Regions from separate parts of the Homo sapiens genome. Here all the other regions are linked to region 5. The links are contacts of gene promoters, found by promoter capture Hi-C in blood cells and fetal thymus (Javierre and others, 2016). All regions are on one chromosome and are shown on one strand. The core of a region is centred on a gene start or on the middle of the fragment in contact, and the rest is flanking DNA. Distances in the headings are between cores, read along the strand shown.

Evidence for each region. The method cuts DNA at HindIII sites, captures the fragments that hold promoters and counts their contacts. A CHiCAGO score of 5 or more calls a contact.
Region 1: a fragment that was not itself captured here is called in contact with the fragment with the promoter of UST in region 5 in 4 of 17 cell types (total B cells, naive B cells, M2 macrophages and 1 more); the score reaches 7.5 in total B cells.
Region 2: a fragment that was not itself captured here is called in contact with the fragment with the promoter of UST in region 5 in 1 of 17 cell types (total B cells); the score reaches 5.7 in total B cells.
Region 3: a contact is called between a fragment that was not itself captured here and the fragment with the promoter of UST in region 5, in 1 of 17 cell types (total B cells). The highest score is 6.1, in total B cells.
Region 4: a contact is called between a fragment that was not itself captured here and the fragment with the promoter of UST in region 5, in 1 of 17 cell types (naive B cells). The highest score is 7.2, in naive B cells.

The regions. Positions count from the first base shown.
Region 1 is chr6:149,016,735-149,021,309 of GRCh38, forward strand. It overlaps UST (uronyl 2-sulfotransferase), which reads left to right. Exons shown (of 8, transcript NM_005715.3): 6 at 2,405-2,502. Among named protein-coding and RNA genes, the nearest start is that of UST-AS2, 14 kb to the right of the region's middle. The HindIII fragment of the contact is 2,434 bases long and covers 298-2,731 here.
Region 2 is chr6:149,068,214-149,072,525 of GRCh38, forward strand. The region is part of intron 7 of UST (uronyl 2-sulfotransferase); the gene reads left to right. Among named protein-coding and RNA genes, the nearest start is that of UST-AS2, 38 kb to the left of the region's middle. The HindIII fragment of the contact is 7,123 bases long and covers 1-4,312 here.
Region 3 is chr6:149,088,469-149,093,020 of GRCh38, forward strand. No RefSeq gene overlaps it. Among named protein-coding and RNA genes, the nearest start is that of UST-AS2, 58 kb to the left of the region's middle. The HindIII fragment of the contact is 154 bases long and covers 1,406-1,559 here.
Region 4 is chr6:149,051,737-149,056,245 of GRCh38, forward strand. The region is part of intron 7 of UST (uronyl 2-sulfotransferase); the gene reads left to right. Among named protein-coding and RNA genes, the nearest start is that of UST-AS2, 21 kb to the left of the region's middle. RefSeq lists an enhancer at 2,679-2,798. The HindIII fragment of the contact is 1,155 bases long and covers 992-2,146 here.
Region 5 is chr6:148,745,601-148,750,009 of GRCh38, forward strand. It overlaps UST (uronyl 2-sulfotransferase), which reads left to right and starts at 1,430. Exons shown (of 8, transcript NM_005715.3): 1 at 1,430-2,077. The coding sequence starts at 1,831. RefSeq lists enhancers at 1,059-1,118, 1,179-1,258, 2,567-3,068, 3,069-3,568 and silencers at 1,829-1,918, 2,219-2,388. The HindIII fragment of the contact is 11,485 bases long and covers 1-4,409 here.

The sequences.
Region 1 (4,575 bases), core at 265-2,764, 270 kb after region 5:
ATGTGACAGTTCTTTGGATGTTCCCCATCACTTTACTCCGTCCTTCTTTGTGAAATCTCGACCTCAGCAGATGAACACTGTCCTGGCCAGAATCACCCTAGGCTCTGCTTCTCACCCAGCTCCTGGCCCCCTCCCTGTTGCCACTGCTGCAGAGGGAGGCCACCAGGGTTATTGGGTCCCTCGGACTAAAGGCTCAGGTTCCAAGGGGAGGCCAACTACCAGAGGACACCCTCAAATGTGAGCAGGGCAGGGGGCTCAGAGCATCCTCAAGGCAAAGCACAGGCACCCGCCCGCACAAGCTTTGGTTTGTTTCACAGTGTGTAAATCTCTGTACAGTTTTCTCACAATAAATGTAAGATGCAGCCGGGCACAGTGGCTCACGCCTGTAATCCCAGCTCTTTGGGAGGCCGAGGCGGGCGGATCATGAGGTCAGGAGATGGAGACTATCGTGGCTAACACGGTGAAACCCCATCTCTACTAAAAATACAAAAAATTAGCCGGGTGTGGTGGCGGGCACCTGTAGTCCCAGCTACTCGGGAGGCTGAGGCAGGAGAATGGCGTGAACCCGGGAGGTGGAGCTTCCAGTGAGCCGAGATCACGCCACTGCAGTCCAGCCTGGGGGACAGCAAGACTCTGTCTCAAAAAAAAAAACAAAAAAAGTAAGATGCGTACATTGTAATAAAAGCTAACACTTCAAAAAAGGAATAAGGAAAAATTCAGTATATTCTCATCTTCCTTTATGCCAACCACCAGAAAAAACTGCTTTCAATCGTGTGCTGTGTCTCCTTCCAGATCCTTTTGTGTTTATGTAAACATGTTGATTTTTATATTGTCCTACATGTTTATATTGTCCTGTAGTCTATACTTTCATTCACTTGAAAATTTATCCAAGACTTTTCAGGATAGCACACACAGATCCTTCTCATTTTTTCCAGGTATCCAGTATTTCAGTGTGTGAATGTACCATAATTTCTCTTAAAACCAATCCCCCGTTCGTGAACATGTAAATTCTGCCATATTTTGTTGTAATAAATAAACTCATTGCAGCAATGAATATCCATATATACACACACACACACACACACACACACACACACACACACATCTGTCAGTGTCAAACTCTTCTTAGAAAGGTATTTCAGGTCTAGTGTCTTGCATTTTAATGGGTTTTCATACACAATGAGATGCTCTTAATCACCCTCACCACATGGCTGGACAGACATATGCACCCCCCTATTCACTTCTCATATGTTCCTCCCTGGAAACTGCACCTCCGCCTCTCATGGTAAACTCAAGTGCTTGAGTACTCTCAATTGTGTTTTTTGCAGATTCTGTTTATTTCCGTTGAATTTGTTATTGTAATTGTGTAATTTACTTAATTGGCATATAAACTGAAGAAGTATGAGGGGATTATTGTTTTTAAGAAAAAGCATAAATTATATTTCTCTCATTCCCAATTTGAACTAAAAAAATTGTTACTAGCTAAACACCCACACCTAAACACCTACACCCACACATGTATATCAGATACAGTAGCTTCTACCGACTCATAATTTCATCAACCATATTTGGGAGTTGTGTCCAGTCTTAATCTGCCTTGCCAGTATAGTCTCTGGAAAAACATCCTACAGCTGTTTGGTTTATTTGTAGATTGAGTTATCTTTTCTCCTTAGAAATACCTGAGAATGAGGCATGTCTTATTTAGAATCTCTAATATGATCTACCTTGATAAAAGTTGGTTTTGAGCCCTTCTGCTTACCCCCACCAAGCCATTTCAAGCTCTGGTAACGCCCTCAGAAACACCATGTCCAACCTCATATAAGAGAAATGGAAAACCTGGACGTCACAACTGTTGCCTTTGAAAGTGAGAGGGTGTCTGTATATAAACATCCTGCTACTTTTTAAGCTAATATAGTGTTAGAAGTGATTTTACAGCTCCTCTAAAATTTGCAAACTCTTATGAGACTATTGTAGGTACTTAGTTGTTGGATGCATGGATACACAGAGAAGCCCTAAATTCATGCAACAAACATTTATTAATTGCCAACTGTATACCTACTAATTGGCTGGCAACTGGTGGCGCCACCACGAAGCACAGTGGGTACCACTGTTCTCCCAAGGCCTGTGACCAAACTTAAGACTCGGAGCCACCAGGAAGTGCAGAGATGCAGTTTACTCAACAGAGCATGCACTCTCTAAAATGGCCCAGCCCTGTGTGTGCCTGGCCAGTGGAGCAGGATGCTGGGAGGCAAAAAATAAGTTTTCTCATGAAATCTGTGAATTCTCTTCATCTTCTCAAGGCGTGCCTGTGTAATTCAATCATGAATTTTACTTAAACTGTGTGGCATTTGATAGAGCCTTGCAGAGACTACAAGACATCTGACTGCTGTATTTTCTCTTCTAGGATATCAATGAGTGTATTCTTGAAAACTATCCCGAGTGCTCCAACCCCAGGTTATTTTACATCATTCCGTACTTTTGTGGACAGCATCCCAGATGCAGGTAAGGGCTAAAGCAGGGTCATGGCATGCACGTACGCACAACAAGGGCAAGAACCCCACCAGCCTGGTACTCGGTGGGAATCTTTTGTATCCCTAGTCTCTCAACCTTCTGGAATTCAGTTCCTGTTTACTATTAATCTTTCAAGATAATATTTGAGACTCCAAATGTCCTATAAATAATGAAATTTAAAAATCAGGGTCTGTAGAGGCCTCAGGAGACCACCATATAAAGCTTTGTAACTGGAACCAAACCCTTGTTTATACCTAAAACATACTTGTCACTACTCATCCCATGTTGTTTGTCTTTCTCTTTGGATAAAATGACAAAATGTCACATAAAATGTGATCGTGAAGACCAGGAGCGAACACCCAGCCTGCTCCTGTACAGTGACTGACTTAACCAACAACCTGCCCTCGTAGCATGTGTCACTGGGTCTGAGACACTGGAAGCCCACACCTCAATCCCATAGTGGATATACTTAGTAGGCAGAGAAGAAAGTGTTTTATAATGATCACCTGTCAACCTTACTTGAAGGCACAACCTTCTTTAGAGAGTGACTTACTCAGATAGTCAGGACCCCCAGGGTGTGATCTGCCCAGGTCCTGCATCAGCACCCCTGTATACTTGTTAAGAACCCCCACCCAATCATAGTCTCGTGTGTAGCAGCCTCCCCAGATGCTTCTGGCGTAGCTATAGTTGAAATCTACTGTGCTAGACAAATGTCATAGCCTGGAGAAGAAATGGCAGCAACAATGAAGCATTATATTTGCTTGGTAGGAAATCAACCCCTGCTATCAGAAGTGACATTATTCCCCAAAGGAAACATTAACTAGAGGGTCCTTGTGTTTCTGAAAAGGCCAAAGGAGAACTGCTACTTCTACACCGGCAACGCATTCATTGTACCTTTTTGCTTATGCTATGATTTCTGCTTCGTTTTTAGGCGTATTGTTGTTATTCCTGTCTTGTTTCATTTGCCATAACAAAAGAGTTTGCTTATAGTCCAAATTATAGAACTAGGAGTGTTGGTTTTTGACTTCACCATAAGCCCCCTGAGTCCAGGTGGCCTCTCCCCTGCCCCCGACCCTTGCCTCAATAACAAATACCTCCTGGTTAACATTTAGTGCTTCAGGTATTGGGAAGATTTGGGGCTGGATGACTCACTTGCTGATCACAGTGAATATCTTTATAACAGGAAACATGATTTGAACTCCCTAAAGTATTTTTTAAATCGTGTAGTATTTTTCAGATTTTTGAATTTTCTAATCTTGGAGAGGTGACTCATGACACCACACCTTGATACACACACAATGATTTTTATAACTCTTTCATCATATCACCTTGCACAGTCTTTACAACAATGCTTTGAACTAGGTAAGGGTGATTTTTACCATTTTTCAAAAGAGAACCCTGGCTTGCCCAATTCCCCCAAATGATAAATGACAGCCAGGCCTGGAGCCCCACTCCCGGGCTTTTCTCACTCGCCTTAGTGTCAGTTCAGAGAGCTGGCCTACAAATCAGCTCTCTGATTTTTACAAATTAGGCTGTTTTCCTTCTGCAATCTAGACAAACAAAATAAAACAAAACAAAAATCCAAAGATTCCTCTTTAACTCTTCCAAAGAATAAGATGATTAATAGGCATGACCTGACAGCTCTTTTGAGTTCTACATAAATACTATGTCGGTAAGTTTCATATTTCAAAACTCCTAAATTCATTTAATTGGTTCAGTTTGGTCCTCCTATTAAAAAACCATTCTACTCACCCCTTGATTAGTATTTGTTAGAACCTAACTGCTTGTGCCTGCATTCATTCGTCCACAATACTTAGGCAGGGCCTCTGAATTCAAGGCCCTGGGCTTGGCATGAAGCATGGATGAAAGTGACAGAGAAGGAATGGTGAGCAGGGCAGGACACCAGTTGGAAGGACTGGGAAGGCCCTGGATGGGGCTACATCTGGGCTGGTCCTTGAGGGAAACAGGATTTGGACTTATGCAAGTGAAGGTGGGAGGTAGAGGGGGTAAACTCTCAGCATCTTGCTGCATTTCAAATATGAATGTCTGATTTTAAATAAATTT
Region 2 (4,312 bases), core at 817-3,316, 320 kb after region 5:
TGTGAGAAGCAGTAATAGCCCTCTCACCTGTCCACACCAAGAAACAACACAGCAAAAGCACAGCAGCTGATTGTCATGAGGAGCCTCCTACCTCTGCCACTTTCTGGCTGCATGACCTTGAATGAGTTATAGCCTTGGCCTCAGTTTCCTCATGTATAAAATGGCTCTTCCATCAAGGGGTTATTGTGAGGATTAAGTATGATTGTGTGTACAAGTGCTTAGCTCAGTGCTTGCTACACATTAGTTCCCATTAACTGTAGCTGTTACTATAAAAATATACCACAAAGCATTAGGCTCAGCCAGGACTGTCACCATCTCGCACCATATCAGTTAACTAATCGTGCAAATATGTCCTGGTTCTTTTCACTTGTACTTGAAGGACACAATATCACATTTTATTGATGTATAATATTTTACATATTTATGGGATATGTATGATATTTTTTTCCATGCATAGAATGTGCAATGATCAAATCAGGGTGTTTAGGGTATCCATCACCTTGAGTATTTATCATTTCTATGTGTTAGGAACATTTGAATTTTTTTTTCTAGCTACTTTGAAACATACAATACATTGTTGCTAACTATAGTCACCCTACTCTGCTATGGAGCATGAGAACTTACATCTTCTATATAACTGTACATTTGTACCCATTAACCAACCTCTCTTCAGCCCGCTCTCCAACCCAGACATCCTTCCCAGCCTCTGGTATGTATCATCCTACTCCCTCCTTGTGGTCAACTTCTTTAGCTCCCATATATGAGTGAAAATACACGATCTTTGTCTTTCTGTGCCTAGATTATTTCATTTAACATGATGACCTCCAGTTCCATCCATGTTGATGCAAATGACATGATTTCTTTCTTTTTTATGGCCAAATAGTATTCCATTGTGTATAATACCACATTTTCTTCATTCATTCATTGATGGACACAGGTTGATTCCATATCTTTACCACTGCGAATATTACTACAGTAAACACGTGAGCATGCAAGTGCAGGTATCCCTTTGATATGTTGATTTCATTTCCTTTGGATAGATACATAGTAGAAGGGTTGCTGGATCATGGTAGTTCTATTTTTAGTTTTTTGAGAACTCTCCATACTGTTTACCATAGTGGCTGTTCTAATTGGCATTCCCACCAACAGTGTATAAGAGTTCCCTTTTCTCCACATCCTCACCAGCATCTGTTATTTATTGGCTTTTAATAATAGCTATTCTAACTGGAGTAAGATGATAGCTCATTGTGGTTTTGATTTGCATTTCCTTGATGATTAGCATGTTGAGTTTTTTCATATACCTCTTGGCCATTTGTATGTCTTATTTTGAGAAATGTCTATTCGGAAGGATATAATGTCACTTTTGACAGAGTTATTTACCTGCTCTGCCCATCCACCAACTCCCCCATCCTAACCATAGAGGAAGGCATTCAGGGAAGAGAGTTTTATTGTCATGAACTAGGAGTAACCTTATGGCAGTTGACCCAGTCACCTAATCGTAATCAAAGAAAGAAATGTATAAACCCATTATGCTGTAACTTTAAAGAATATTCCCAAAGTTTTTCTGGCCTGAAATTAATAACCATTTATATAGCAAATCAACTCAATCCATTATATAGACCAACATTTTGCAAGTGATTGAAGACTAGTAAAATGTGATTGGTATTTCTCAGATAGTTTTGTAGTCAAGGTATTTATATGATTACACTTGCTGTCCATTGTTTTTAGGAAATTACTGTTTCAACCTTACGACAAAGAGCTTTGAGGCTGTGAAATAGAACAGATTTCCAAATTACTTCTTTACAAGGATCTAGGCTCCCTTTTGCTTATCCCCTTGGATCCTTTGCCAGGTTGGGCCAAATAATTTAAGTAATGAATTTATTTTAAATCACAGGAGTCTTACTTTTTTGTGTATCAGATAACAAAACCCTACACAATGTATAGTGCTCTAAGAGGAAGGGATTGAAGGAGGCTTTCAATGAGAGAATTATTTTTCCTCTGCCTCTCAATGTTTGACTTAAAACTCTTTATTTCTTGTCTGTCTTTCATAAGATTTTTTAGCTCTGTTTTAAAAAACAAAAAGGAACACCTAAGACCTGTGAACAATGACCCGCCCCAGATTAGCTAGAGTTCATATCTTCAGAGAAGACAGATATTATAAAATGTTCTGTTAGGAACCCATTTCAGAAGAGTCTATGCCAAGTTATTTAACAGAAATTCTAGAGTGTTCAATGTGTGTTATGTTTTTAATTTCAATGAAGACCATGTTATCTATTTACAAGGATCTAGGCTCCCCTGTGCAAAGGACCCAACCTGGCAAAGGACTTTCAAAAGAGTCAGTTTGAAAAGTAATACCCTTATTCAATGAGGCTGTTGGCCACATAGAGAATTTATTTATTTTTTATTTTAATTAATACCTAATGGGGTACATGAGATGTTTTGATACAGGCATGCAATGCATAATAATCTCATCATGGAGAATGGGGTATCCATCCCCTCAAGCATTTATCCTTTGCATTACAAACAATCCAGTTATGCTCTTTTAGTTATTTTATTATTATTATTATTAATTTTAGACAGAGTCTCGCTCTGTCGCCAGGCTGGAGTGCAGTGGCGCAATCTCAGCTCACTGCAACCTCTGCCTCCCGGGTTCAAGCAATTCTCCTGCCTCAGGCTCCCGAGTAGCTGGGACTACAGGTGCATGCCACCACGCCCAGCTAATTTGTGTATTTTTAGTAGAGACAGGGTTTCACCATGTTGGCCTGGATGGTCTCGATCTCTTGGCCTCGTGATCCACCTGCCTCGTCCTCCCAAAGTGCTGGGATTACAGGCATGAGCCACCATACCCGGCTCTTTTAGTTATTTTTAAATGTACAATTAAATTATTATTGGCTATAGTCACCCTGTTGTGCTATCAAATAATAGGTCTTATTCATTTTTCAATTTTTTTTGTACCTATGAACCATCCCCACCTGTCCCCAATCCCCCACTACCCTTCTTAGCCTCTACATAGAGAATTTTTCAAATTCCTTCTTTAGAATTGCTACTGAAGGCTTCAGAAGGTACCTCAAATATCCTAAAAATTGGGAAGTCTATGTCCTTTCAGATGAGTCTGATTTTGGAAATAGCCATTTGGAACTGTATTTAGTAAATTATATACCTATTCAAATTTGTTGACAAAAATTTTAGTCAAAAGCAAGATTATAAAAGAAAATGTGAGGGCAAATCTTCATGACCTTGGATTTGGCAATGGCTTCTTTAATATGACACCAAAAGACAGGCAATAAGAAGAAAACAGATAAAATGGTCTCCATTACAATTAAAAACTTCTATATGTCAACCTTGGATTTGGCAATTTTTTTTAATGTGACACCAAAAGTCAGGCAATATGAGAAAAATGGATAAAATAGTCTTCATTAAAATTAAAAACTTTTATGCATCAAAGAACACTATCAACAGAGTGAAAAGACAGCCTGTGGAATGGAAGAAAATATTTGTAAATTATATACCTGATATATGTGCAGATTATCTAAAATATGTAAATAACTCCTTCAACTCAACAATAAAAACAAACAAAAGCAAACAAAAAAAAACCCCACTTCAAAAATGGGCAAAGGACTTGAATAGACATTTCTCTAAAGAAGATATACAAACAAACAGCATTTGTTGGACACATGCTTGTCAAAAAGCACATGAAAAGGTCATTAGAAATTAGGGAAACCATTAGCATCAGCATCACTACAGGAGTCATTAGGGAAATGCAAATCAAAACCACAGTGAGATACCACTCCACACTTACTGGGATGGCTACAATTTTAAAAAGGGAGGAAAATAACAATCGTAGGAGAGAATTCGAAGAAATTGGAACCTTCACACATTGCTGGTAGGAATGTAAAATGGTGCAAACACTGTGGAAAATAATTTGGCAGTTCTTCAAAACATTAAACTTAGAATTACCGCATGACCCAGCAATTCTGCTCCTAGGCATATACCCAAAATAAGTGGAAACAGGGACTCAGATACTAGAATGCAAATGTTCATTATAATAAGCAAAAGATGGAAACAACCCAAGTGTCTCTCCAAGGATGAAAGGATAAACAAATTGCGTTCTATCTATACAATGGAATGTTATTCAACCTTAAAAGGAATGAAGTTCTGGGCCAGGCATGGTGGCTCACACCTGTAATACCAGCACTTTGGGAGGCCGAGGCAGGTGGATCACCTGAGGTCGGGAATTCGAGACCAGCCTGACCAACATGGAGAAACCCCATCTCTACTAAAAATACAAAATTAGCCAGGCATGGTGGTGCAT
Region 3 (4,552 bases), core at 233-2,732, 340 kb after region 5:
TTCCAACTCAGTTGTGGAATTCCACCAGGAAAACCCTTTCTTGCTCAAGAAGAACTGCGGGTACAATTTCAGCTCACCTTGGGTCTGTGTTGCCCCAGGGAGCCCAGGCTGAGGGTGAACAAGCTGCAGCTGCCACTTGAACAGCGCTTTCTCAGGTCTTGAGCCGCTTTGCGTCATCTCTGTTGCTTCAGTGCCTCCAGAAGCCCCTTGGTGCTCCCCCCAAGGGTAGCGCTCACCACGCTACATTGTAAATGCTCATTTAACCATTGTCTCACCCCCCAGACCACACCCTCTGTGAGGGCAACACCTTGTCTTGTTCACTGCAGTGTCCACGGCACTTAAATGCAGCACTCAGAATGAAGGAGTGAACAAATGAGCCAATGGGTGAGTGGCTGAATGAATGCAGTGAACTAATTCTTTTTCACTGAGCAAAGGAAGGCGGAGAACTTGGAGTGAGAAACAGGAGGGCAGAGTAAACAGGAGAGATAGAGAAAGAAAGTGACAGAGACTTGCCACCTCTGGGAAACCAACACTAGTGGCCCAACATGACCAGAATCCCCCTGGTCAGCTTCTAAGGAACGCTCTATGGGTGTTTTATGTAAACATTTCACATGGCTCACGCCTGTAATCCCAGCACTTTGGGAGACCAAGGCGAGAGGATCACCTGAGGTCAAGAGTTCGAGACCAGCCTGGCCAACGTGGTGAAACCTCATCTCTACTAAAAAATACAAAAATAATTAGCTGAGTGTGGTGGTGTGCCCCTGTAGTCCCAGCTACTCTGGGAGGCTGAGGCAGGAGAATCACTTAACCCAGTAGGCGGAGGTTGCAGTGAGCCGAGATCGCGCCATTGCACTCCAGCCTGGGCGACAGAGGGCGACTCCGTCTCAAAAAAACATTTAAAAAATCTAAAAAATAATAATAAGTGAAGAGGGAAAATCATTCAATATAAGAATCCCCCTCTAAAGGAGCCAAGCAGGTAGGTCTAATAATTCAGACTGTTCCTCTGCTCCATGGTGTGTGGAATGATTTACTGCATCCATAAAGGAAATTGCAGGACTTAGAGCTGAGAGACACTCCGGAGGCCCTGAAACTGGTATGGCGCAGACACAGAGCTGTGTCTGAAGATGTGGCTCCCGGGACTGGAGGGTCTGCAGCTGCCCTGAGCCCACAGGTGACGGTGTTCAAAAGAGGAGCGGCATCAGCAGTGGCTCTGTCCCACGGCTGATTAACGCAACGGAATGTACAGTCAGCAAGGGGGTGCTGCCTGTCAGGCTGTGGACTTACTGTCTGTCCCAGACTGGCTTTGTTCAAGTTTAAGGGCATTGTAATATTTAATATGGCCTGTAGCAATTTCATACCATTTGTAAAAATCATGAGACTATTTAATATAGAAAAAATATGTTCAAGCTTCCACCTAGAAAAATAACTGTGTATAGAACAGAATAAAAATGAGTTCAGAAGAATATTAGCTGATTAACACATTCTATTGAGTTAAGAAACTAGAACCCAGATATACGGGCACAACCAGGAAGGAAAGTGGGAATCTTAAAGGAAGAAGAAGCTTCAGATTAGAGAAGAGATGACCTTTGACTAAGAAGTCCCTAGTAGTCGTACTTAAAGCTTATCACCAAACTCGAACCAATTGTACAGTGTCAGTTAGTAAATCCTAAATCGAATGATCAGCATGTTACCTAGGACACGGCTGCGGCCCTGCGTTCCAGTCGCTATGCTATTCTTTCGCTGTGATGAGTTACTCTGTGTAAAGCAGGGGTCCCAGACTTTTGATTTATGAACCAAGAAAAAAAAATTAATAGAAACATGGAACCAAAATAGGACTGTCAGCTTCCTTTCCCCATTGGTCAAGTAAAAATATGAAGCAAAAAAAGGAAGAGGAGAGAAGGGAATTACTATCTACCGTCACCATGATTTGGGGCAAAGAATAGACATTTTCACATTAAAAAACTAAGACCATAATCTCCAAATTTAAAAAGATGTGATTTTGTATTTAAGAAAACAGTCATTCATTGTTCTTTTCTCACAGGCAGGCTTTGGGGAACCAGGGGATGGAAGAGTGGAGAAGAATACGGGCTTTGTAGTAACACAGTTCAAATATCAATCCTGCCACCTATTAACGAGGGCAGGTAACTTCAGGTTCCTGAGACCTAGGATCTGTCTTCTGTGAAAGAGGCATATGTACTTCACAGGTAATTGTGAGAAGGAACTGAGACAGATACATTAAGGCATAATAAATGCTAGCACTTTCTTCTGGTGAGGATTTTTGGCCGTCAAGACTAGATGTGTGGTGTTTGGAGACATGGGGAGAGAGAAGGCCTCACTCTCAGTACCCTGCTCCCCAGTGTGAAGGCTCACCTCTTTTGAATCACAAACTCTGCTCAGGCCTGGGTTTTGTGGAGTCTTGTCCTCTTCCTCCCTGTTAGAGAGTCTAATTTAAACCTGATCTCACCTGGCTAAAGAAGATACCTGAAGAGGAGAGTTAAGGGGGAGAGGGGCCCTCTGCATCCTCCCATCCTCAGTTCTCCTTGGCCTGGCCAGGAACTGCTAGGACACCCATCATTTTGATTTAGAATAAAACTGATTTGCCTGTCGGCTATCAAGACAGATGGAGTAAGGTTTGCCAAAAAACAGAGAATTTGGCCGTGGCTATTTCTTATATAGACCTTTCCAGCTGCAAGATTGATATCAGAGTGTAACATGCGGCTGCAAATGTAAAGAGAGTTAGGTTTGATCACAGCCCTCCCTGTTTCCCTCCTGCAGGCAAATGACAGGCAGGTTTTTAAGGAAAAAGCTAAGGCTCTGGGTTTGAGAGTCGGACATTAAGTTAGGGACAAAATGATTTAACCTCCTCCTTGGGATATGCTGAGATACTATTCCAAATATTAATTTGCTCAGAATTCAAATTGAACTCTGCAGCTACCTCATCTGAGAGGAAAATAGAGCTCTGAGAACAAAGGCTTTTCCCAGCATCTCCTTAGGAAAACCCCCTGGACTGTCTGTCAGGAGACCCGGGCTCGAAACCATGGCTTTATTGTTCATCTTTTATGCCTCAGTTTCCCAATAGGAATATATGACTAATACTAGTGTTTTCTTTTGACAAGACTATGGTAAAGAAAGACCAAAGAAAACTATACATTTGAGAAAGTTCATAGCACTAATACAATAAGCTGTAATTTTGATTATGGTCATGTTTATGGAATTTTCAGCTTCATTCTTTCTTTTAAGGCTTAAAGTTTAAAATAAAAACACTTTAAATAAAATTTCAGGTGCAACGGCTCACATCAGTGGTCCCAGCTACTTGGGAGGCTGAGGTGGGAGGAGAGCTTGAGCCCAGGAGTTCAGGACCACCCTGAGCAACATAGAGAGACCCCATCTCAAAAAAAATAGTAAAATAAAATAAAATAAATATTGTTCAGGCCTTCAAGACCTCACTGAGAACTTAGCTTTCAGCCATGGCTTACTCAGAAGCCATCAAGGGGCTCTGGCCCCTTGGAGAGCCAGGCCACATGGGCTTCTGCCCCACCACGAATTCCAGTTCCGTAGCCTGAGGAACCTCAAGATGCATCTTAGGGTTCTTGTGTTTTCTAGAGAGCTTTATCTTTTTGTGGCCTCTACGCCCTTTGGTTCCTGCTTCTTTGGATTCAAGGTTTGGGGGAGGGCAAGTAGGGAATAGAGAATAAACAAAGACAGGCAATGCATGTTCGCTCACGCCTGTAATCTCAGCACATTGGGAGGCCAAGGCAGGCAGATCATTTGAGGTCAGGAGTTCAAGATCAGCCTGGCCAACATGGCAAAACCCCATCTCTACTAAATATACAAAAGTTAGCCAGGTGTGGTAGCGGGTGCCTGTAATCCCAGCTACTCGGGAGGCTGAGGCAGGGAGAATTGCTTGAACCTGCGAGGCGGAGGTTGCAGTGAGCCGAGATCATGCCACTGCACTCTAGCCTGGGCAACAGAGGAAGACTGTCTCAAAAAAAAGATAATAAACAAAGACAGGCTTTACAGCACATAAAACAAGCCTTCACTTGGATGGTTGGCCCCTCACCTGCCTGGCCCTTTTTCTCTTTCCTTTCTTCTCACCCTCTTCATTCATCTGCCCTCTTCTTCAGGTGTGAAACCCTCCAGTTCCCCAATGTATACTGAAGAGCATGTTTCCTTTCCTGATATCTTGCTGCTGGCTGGCATCCAAAGGTGTTGCCCATCCAAGCAGGTTTTTAAAGGAATTTTTTCAGACAAAGGAAGATCCTTCCTCAGGAGGAGTTTAGATGCCAGCTGTTAAGAGCCGTTGGGTAAAACAGTGCTGTCACCAACTGCTATGTGAATAAACCAATGCTTCTCAAAATGTGGTCCTCACACCCCAACACCAGCAGCCTCAGCATCACCTGGCCACTTACTAAAAATACAGATTTGGGCCAGGTGCAGTGGCTCACACCTGTAATCCCAGCACTTTGGGAGGCTGAGGTGGGAGGATCATGAGGCCTGGCCAATGTGGTGAAACCCCTTCTCTATTAAAAATACAAAAAATTAGCCAGGCGTG
Region 4 (4,509 bases), core at 319-2,818, 310 kb after region 5:
GGCGATGGGGGGGTGTCTGACAAAACTTTACTTTTCTTCCTTTTTTATTAAAGTGTTTCAGATGCTGCAGTCATGAATGATTTTTGAATGTTTATTATTTACCTAATACAGGCAAGAAGATATAGTAGAAGATAAAAAATGAATAGAAAAGAGATAGTACTACCCAAATGGAACTCTATTAGGGAGGGGAAAATATGTGAAACATCCAAAATATATTTTTGACATTTTTACAGAATTAAATAATTATAGATTATACGGTATTCATGATCAAGAAGTGCTTTGGAATTTTATGCACCTAATGAATGTATAGGTGGGGAAAGTTGATCTATAAATGCACATGTATACTGTAAGGGATATGAATCTTTACTTTCACTGAACCACCAGACCTTAAAATTTTATAGGAGCAGAGCATCTCAAAGTCTTGATGTCTGTAATTTCATAAAGTATCATTAACACATTAAGTTTCAACTAAATTGAAATTAATTGTTTCATTTGGGGAGATTAGCATTTTTCTATTTCAGTGGCAGAATACTGATGTTTCAAGGGAATATATTTTGAGGATAACAGTCATAATATTAATAGTTGTTGTTATTATATTTAACACTCATTGGGAGCTTCTTGTGTCTCAGGAATCTTGTTAAGTCCTTTAGATGTACTATTTCATTTAATCCTAAGAACAACCCTGTGAGGAAGATACTATTATTATGTCCATTGTACAGATAAGGAAACCACCAACTTAGAGATGATTCATAACGCTTCTATGTTACTGAGCTGGTCGCTAGCAGCACTCAAGTGATTGAACATTCAACCCAGGCCCAGGTGACTTGCAACCCCGTGCTCGTAAGCTCTTAACTGGTCTCTCTCTCTCTCTCTCTCTCTGAAAAGGGCAAAATCTAAAACATGATTATCTGAGGGAGATGGGGTAGCTAGAAAAGTAGGATTCTATGAAATGTTATTCTGCTGAATTCTCAAGAACACAGTGTTTCTGGAAAGCTTAGTGGTTCTGTTGAGGTGATGTTCATTGATATTCTAAATGTGTTACTTTGTTTTATTTTTTTGTTGGTGGGGGAAGACTTTACTAGTTGGAATTACTAAAATCGCTTTAATAAAGTGCTTGCAAAGACTCAATCTGGTTAACAGTAAAGCCATTTGTTTCAGTCATGTCAGCAACTTTGGTTTTCATAAGGGTTTTAATGAATCGGAGAGTGGAATTTAAGAAAGCAAACAATCCAAGGAATACTCCTTATTTTTCTAAAATAGCAAAGCAAAAATGGGAACCCTTTCCAGTTTAGTTACAGCAAGTATCTATTGGAGTTTTAGAAATTCTTAGAGTACATCATTTATCATATAGAACAAAACTTGATTAATGAACACTTTTTAAAAGTCTTTTTAGGGTCCTATTATTATTTTAGTTGTTTAGATATAAAAATATTTTATGACATATTCACTGTTAAATTTATAGTGAATTGACATTCAGTGACATTTGTTTTTAAAGTTGTTTATTGAAATATGTAGTCTACCAGAAATAAGTACGGTTACCAACTACTGAAATCAATTTAATAGTAATTTGGTCTTGTTAGTCTGTTAAAAAGAATTATTGGCCTTCAGATATTTCCACAAAGCCCTTTGTTACTCATGAATCCCATCAAGATGCTATGAATAAAGACTGTGAATATCAATAAGTTTGAAAACATTCCATGCTCATGTTCAGGGTCATATTTTTCCCTGTCTTCTATGTTCCTCTTTGTGGCTATAAACCCAAACTTATGTGTTGTGTGTTTTTTCTATGACAATTATGGATATGACTTATTTACTATATGCTCTATGAGGTATAACCTAATGTCAACTGACTTCAACTATGTTTGCCATACTTCCAAAAAAATAGCCACTCATGTATCTGTCTGATCAGGAGGTGAACCGATGGTGCTGTATGAAATTGAGAACTAATTATCTCATAAACATTCTAAGTGGATATAAGGAATTATGTGCTCAGTTGCAACCACTAATTTATCGAAGCACCGGGTCTAAATACCTCAGGGAATGCACAGAAGCCTGATGGTTGAAAAGCCTTCAAAGCATTCTCTCAGCTAAAAAGTACAAGAATTGGGGCTCATATCTAGTGCCTTTTTGGACAGTTGGTCACAGAAGCTTAGAAACATTGGCACAAGTATTGTCAGGTGGAGCCTGGCCGTGACCTCTGTGAAATGGCTGTCATGAGCTTGGCAGGGTGGGAATAATGGCTCTCCTGCCACCATCTGTCACCCCTGTCCAAGACACCAGCACAATTTGAGAGCAGCTGTGGTTCCCTACCCTATTCTCACCCCATCCCCCCATGCCCAGCAGCTCCCTCCCTGGGACTTTGGACCTCGTGGGAAAAAAATGGAGAAGGAGGGAAAGAAAAGTACTTGAGGGTTTTGTAAATGTTCAGAAAGGGAGGGGGGTGCGGTAGAATTAAATCTACCCAAAGAAGAGCCAAAGAGCTTTCACTTGCTTTCCCTTCTAGCCAACCAGTAACCAGTAGGCCTTCATTTTATTGTCACATGTAAAACTCAAGAAGTGATGAGTAAGTAGCATTCAATTAGAATTTAATCTTTTTTGGTAGAAATGGTGTAAAAGTTTTCAATGAGGATATGCTGATTCCTGGTTGCATGTTCCACAGCCTTTGATGTTCAACCACATCATCTTGCACTTATAGCTAAAAGGTGTCAGACACCTAACATTGTCTTAGCAATCTTCTGTGGTTCCAGATACTGTGTGCATCTTACAGGCTGGAGTTGGGGGACACCGATGCTTAATGGGAAAACTAATGACTTTATACAGATCTTATAAAACTCTGCTATTGTCGGGGGGCAGGCATTTAGTAGATTAAGTTTGTAATCTAAGAGAGGAAACTGGGCAGGAAAGACAAGAGTGAGGTGAAGCACCACCGTGGACCAGAAAAAGGCTTGAAATTAGAAGCCTTTGGCAAAAGTGTGAAACTTTGCCACTTTACATTGTTCAGTGGGTCAGAAATTGTCAAAGATTTTCTTTTTTCTCCAAAGAGAAATGACGAGGAAGGAGAGACATTTTTTATTTGTTCTGGGTGTTTGTTTATTGTTTGTTTTGGACAAGGTCTCACTCTGTTGCCCAGACTGGAGTACAGTGGTGCAGTCACAGCTCACTGCAGCCTAGACCTCCCCGGCTCAAGCAATCTGAAAGAGAGACATTTCAAAATTGAACCTAAGACTCATGGTTTATCGCATGAGAACCCACAGCTCTCACAGAAACTCAAGAAATGTCTTAGTGAGGGGACTCAATCCTTTACACTTCGAGCTGAAAGGACGGCAGTCAGCCCAGCCAGGAGGTTACCTCAGCATAGACCAAGTAAATAAATCATTTGGTAGAAGCCATTTGAGAGTAAAGGTTACTAGAAAGTCATAAATCAACCAGCAAGTCGATGTATGGTTTTGCTAGAATGTAGGAGCAATTAGAAATTTTTAGAAATATTTCTTTAACTGTGCGTGACTTGAGGAAGAGGACTATGACCTAACTAACCAGTTACTATTATTATATCAAAATGAGATTTTAAAAAATACAGTATGGATTTAATGCCGGTTCACTTATTCAGTTTTATGCAGTTAAGTTGTTGTTTTTAGAACATTATGAAATTTCATTTCATGCCCCAATAAAACTAAACTAAAATGGAATGGGTTACAGCTTTTCCATTTGTTGACTTTTCTCTTTCAAACATCTTTGATTTTCCATTCATTGAACACACTTTTTAAGAATGCTTTGAATGTCATTCAAGTTACCCGTTTCTCCTGTCCCCTCCCCCACCTGTCTCTAATGCAGTTTCCAAAGTGAACCAATCCTAACGGAACCTAATGATACCTTTGAGCACGTTTCTTAGTAACACTAGCACCTCTTTCTTACCTGCTTCTAATTCACATAATGGCCTTTCTAGCATTGGCTGATTGTTTCTTTTTCATTTCCCCTTTATCACTCCCACCCATGTCTTATCAAAGGGGAAGGCTGGTGGTTAATGGTCAGTGCATTGCACCACAATTTCATGCTTGTGCTGCATCAAAAGTCTAACCTGACAATCAGTCCCTTCTCTTCCATCTGACATCAGAAGCTTCTGCAGTTTCTCACAGCCATTGGCCATGAAAGTTCAGCTCAAGAAGTCATCGCAACTACCTTCATTTATAGCCTGTTGTTGACCTAAAACCTAATGCATGTCAGTGCTCTTCTCTGTTTCTTCTCTCATGTCAGAAAAATTAAAATGTTTTAATTTTTTTCCCAGGCTGCATTTGCAAGTTTTAATATGTCTATAACATTTTTATAGTATATCAGTATCCATATCAAACATTTAACTCTGTTACTCTGCTTTTCTTTTCTTTTCTTTTTTTTTTTTTTTTTTTTTTTTTTGAAATGGGGTCTCGCTATGTCGCTGCAGTGCGGTGGCGTTAGCTCACTGCAACCTCTGCCTCCCGGGTTCAAGCGACTCTCAGCCTCCTGAGTGGCTGGGAT
Region 5 (4,409 bases), core at 180-2,679:
ACTGTCGCCCAGGCTGGAGTGCAATGGCGCGATCTCGACTCACTGCAACCTCCGCCTCCCGGGTTCACACGATTCTCCTGCCTCAGCCTCCTGAGTAGCTGAGGTTAAGACATATTCTTAACGAGTAAGTTCTTTGTCTAGGATAATATTTTGTAATTTTCCACAGAATATTCTTCAGATGCCTAACTTGATGAAGGTTTTCAGGAGCCTAGTCTTAGAATCATAGAGGTTCTTGGCTCCTGGTTCCTTCTTAAATCCAATTGTTCATTACTGGAATATACAAATGAGTAGGGAGCCAGAAATGATAGGCACCAGAAACTGAGGTTTCCATTTCTCAATGTGGCCTGAACTAAATGAATTAAATCTCATCCTCCTATGGGACGTGAAGGAAAAGGGCTCTGGCTGGGAAGTACTGCTGTGCAGTGGTTAGTATAGTGGGTCTGAGGGTCAAATAGATTTGAGTGCAACTCCCAACCCAACTCCTACTACTAGCTTTGGGACCTCGGGTGAGTCACACAGCCCTCAGGTGCTACAGCTTCTATAAATAGTGATATAGTATTCTTACTTAAAGTGTGGCTGATCAGAGCAGCCCTTCCGTGGATCAACCACCCCATCAGAGGATCTATGTCTAGGATTGAGCCTTTTCTGCCCCAGGAGGTTCTTTCAGGTCCAGAGGCTTTCCCGTGGAGGGAAGAGAGGCAGCAATGAAATCAGCGTATAGGCGGACTGGGCTCTTTCCCCTTCATGTCTGCAGGGCAATGACCTCCTAGAGTCCGCTATGCACCCCCCACTTGCCTCTCTGGGCACTGCGAGGTGGAGCAGTTGTAGGACCAGGAAAAGCAAGAACAGAGCGTCCTCTTCGGCTACCCTACCCGGGAGTTCAGGCGCTGCGCCTGGCCCTCTGGGGCGTGTTTGACCATAACTCGCACCGCTTGCTCTTTTCCCATTTCAGCAAAGTCTTGAGCCTGTATTCTAGTACCTTTTATCAGCCTTGGGTAAGCAGCTCGCACGGGGTATATAAGGAGAATCAACTTTCTGAACTGAAAAAAATGTAAATAGTAAAGTCAGTCGTGCTTCTTCCTGCCGGTGACTGTTTACAAGAGGGAAGTCAGCGGGGCCCCCAAGAGGTCGCTGGTGGCGCAGGAACCGCATCCAGATTGTAAAGAACGGGGGAAGGAAAAAAAAAGAAAACACCCAGAAACTTTCTTCCTTGTTGCGAATAATCGCCGCCTCCCCCCCTCCGCCCCCAGCAGAAGCAGTAACGTGACACCCGAGCGAAATCCCGAGACCCGAGCGGAGAGGGAGGGGAGAGGGAGGAGAGTGCTGCGGAGCGCCGGAGGGAGAAAGGGGAGGAGAAGGAGGAAAACCCCTGTCAAGGAGGTGGAGCGAGGGGATGGTGTCCGCCTCCTGTTCCTCCCTGCCGTTTTTTAGAGAAGCCTGAACCGGGACAAAACACGCCGAGACCTACAGACACAAAGCCGGGGGGTCCACGCTGGCGCTGGAGGCGAGCCCCGGCGGCCGCAAGCGAGCCCGAGGCGCGGCGGGGCGCGGGGCGTGGGGACGCTAGCGGGCGCCGGACGGGCGCGGCGCCCCGTCACGGGCAGCGCCCCGAACCGGGGCCGGACACCTCGGCCGCTCGGGCCGCGGCGGCGGGGACCATGCCGAAGAAAGTCTCCTGAGCCCGGCAACTTCGGCCCCTCCCCGCCCCCACCCGGCTGCCCTCCGCGCGGCCCTCCCCATGTGCAGCCGGCCAGCCGGGCTCTCCTCCTCGCGGCGGATGGGTGACCTTTTCCTGGCACGGGCAGGCTGTGGGAGGCAGCGGAGCAGGCGATGAAGAAGAAGCAGCAGCATCCCGGCGGCGGCGCGGATCCCTGGCCCCATGGGGCCCCTATGGGGGGCGCCCCTCCGGGCCTGGGCAGCTGGAAGCGTCGGGTGCCCCTGCTGCCTTTCCTGCGCTTCTCCCTCCGGGACTACGGCTTCTGCATGGCCACCCTGCTGGTCTTCTGCCTGGGCTCCCTCCTCTATCAGCTCAGCGGGGGACCCCCTCGCTTCCTGCTCGACCTGCGGCAGTACTTGGGTAAGGAAGCTGGGCAGGCGCTAGGGCGGCGCCGACAGCGCAAAGTTGTGCGGCGGGGAGAGGGTCGCGGCGGGGACTTCTCGCGCTGCCACCGCGCGCCGCCGCCGCCCCGGGTCTCTCCAGGTGCTAAGCCCGTGAGCATCTGTGCCGCGGTCGGGAGCGCCTTCTTCCTCCCGCGCGTCCGACTGTCCTCACCGAGGCGGGGGCGCCGCTGGGTTGCGCTGCCGGCAGGTACCCCGGGGCGAGGCACCGCTCACCTTCCCCCCGCCCCACCTCCGCCACCCGGATCCGGACTGGGGCGGAGTGGATGGGTGTGTGGGGTGTGCCGGAGTGTGTGTATCTTCAGGCCTGGCGGCGCGGGGAGTGGCGAAGGGAAGGGAAGGTCCTCTTCGTTGCATTGTTAGTGACCGCAGTTCAGTCCCGTCCCGCGCCCCGGGGAGTGTGGGTGGGTTTAGCCCTTTGCCACCGTCCGCTCTGAGAATTCTGTCCCGCAGATCCCCCGCCTGCCCGCCGGCCCTAGTGGCTCCGCGCTGTCCCCGGGCTGGCTTGTCCCTTGGCTGCCGCTGCCCACCCCGCCGCCCGCAGCTAGCCTGGCGCGGGGAACGGGTTGCATCCAGGGGTTTGGGGATGCCCGAGGGCGCTGGTCAGCCTGGCCAGCAGTGTCGCCCCCAGTAACCCGAGGATCCTCGGCGCTGTGTGCGTCTCAAGCTCAAGTCAAAACTTGTGTGTGTGTGTGTGTGTGTGTGTGTGTGTGTGTGTGTGTGTGTGTGTGTGTGGTTTATTAGGAGAGAGGCCGCCTGTCTTTAGCAGAAGTAAGGAAGGGGTTTGACGGGAGGGAAAGAGCCGCTCCAGCGAGAAGGCGTGACCCCGCAGCTCCCTCGTCTCGGCTGCGGGAGCCAGGGGTGCCAGGGACAGGCGAGCGCAAGCCCAGGTCGCAAGGACGATGCTGGCACTCGCGTTCGAGCCAAGGGAGGATGCAGATCCCTCCCAAGTCTGTGGCCAGAAGAGGTCGTGCGGGGGTGAAGGCTGGGAGAGCTCCAGCTTCTTGCAAGCATCCGAAGTGATAAGCCTGAGCATCTGCACGATGAGAGCGAGTGCGGGGAAGCAGAGCCACCGAAGTGCTGGAAAGAAAATGGGCCAAATGACCCGGGCCAGCTGGAGGCTGCCACAGTTACCCCAAACGTCACTTCGTGGCAGAAGCCACAGGTCTAGATAGTAGACCGTTTGGAGAAAAGAGAAAAGAAAAGGAAAAAAAAAAAACCCAAAACAAACAAACAAAACAAAGCAAAACAAAAACAAAACCACATCAGCCAAGTTACAAATGTGTTAGGGCATTTGGAAATGTAGATGTGGATAAAATAATATTCTTTACCTTGTACAAGACCTCATATTTTAAAAGTTACACTTTTATTTCTTTATAAACTTTGGGGAACTACAGATTACAGGAAAAGTTGGCCCAAGTAGATTTCCATAGCATTTGGTTTCATAGAGGATTTGGGGCAATATATCCTTTATTAGGGAATCAAACCTCTTCTTTTCATAAGTTCTGTATTGTGGAGTCTCATAGCTTCCTCCACTCTCTGACACCTGCTAGTGCCACAAAAGTTAACAGTATTTTCATCACCAGCAGCAATCCCTGTTAACAGGCATTGGGAGGCAAGCGTTGAGGCTCAGGGTCTTTCTCCATTAAATCTGACAGTGAATTCTTGTGGAAGTTCTTTTTAAGTAATAGATGGAGGCCAGGGGTGTAGGGAAAAGTGTAATGGACCAGGATGGAAGTCATCTGTGCTCATTGTCCTCAAAGCACCTGGCCTCGTGTAGGGTACTCAGACTTCATAGGCCTGGTGTTTCATGGCAGAATTAGAAGCCACACCTGACTGTCAATGAAACCTCCACCCAGCTCCTAAAGTTTTGGGGTTCTGACACCTTTCTTGAGGAAGGGAAATTCTGGGAGGAGGAAGGAGCAAAGGTACTACTGAGGATAAAATCAAGACATTTCAACATATATTGCATTAACATTTTCACTTTATATTTCCAAACAATGAGGCCTAATAAATTTGGGTGGTCAGTTGGTAGAAGGGTGAATTCTCAGCTTCTGCTCAGGAAACTAGGAAGAACTGAAAGATTGAATGCTGCTCCTGTTACTAGCTGATCATTATATTTCTGACTGATGTGATAGGTTCAAAATGACATCATTGTGAACTGAAAATAGAATACCCTTGGCCAAATTTGTTCCCTGTTACGTAAATATAATGATTTTTGGGAAAAGTGGGCTTGTGGTATTTTGGATGGTCTAAAATATACCTTTAATAATATAAGGCCACTGTGTCTG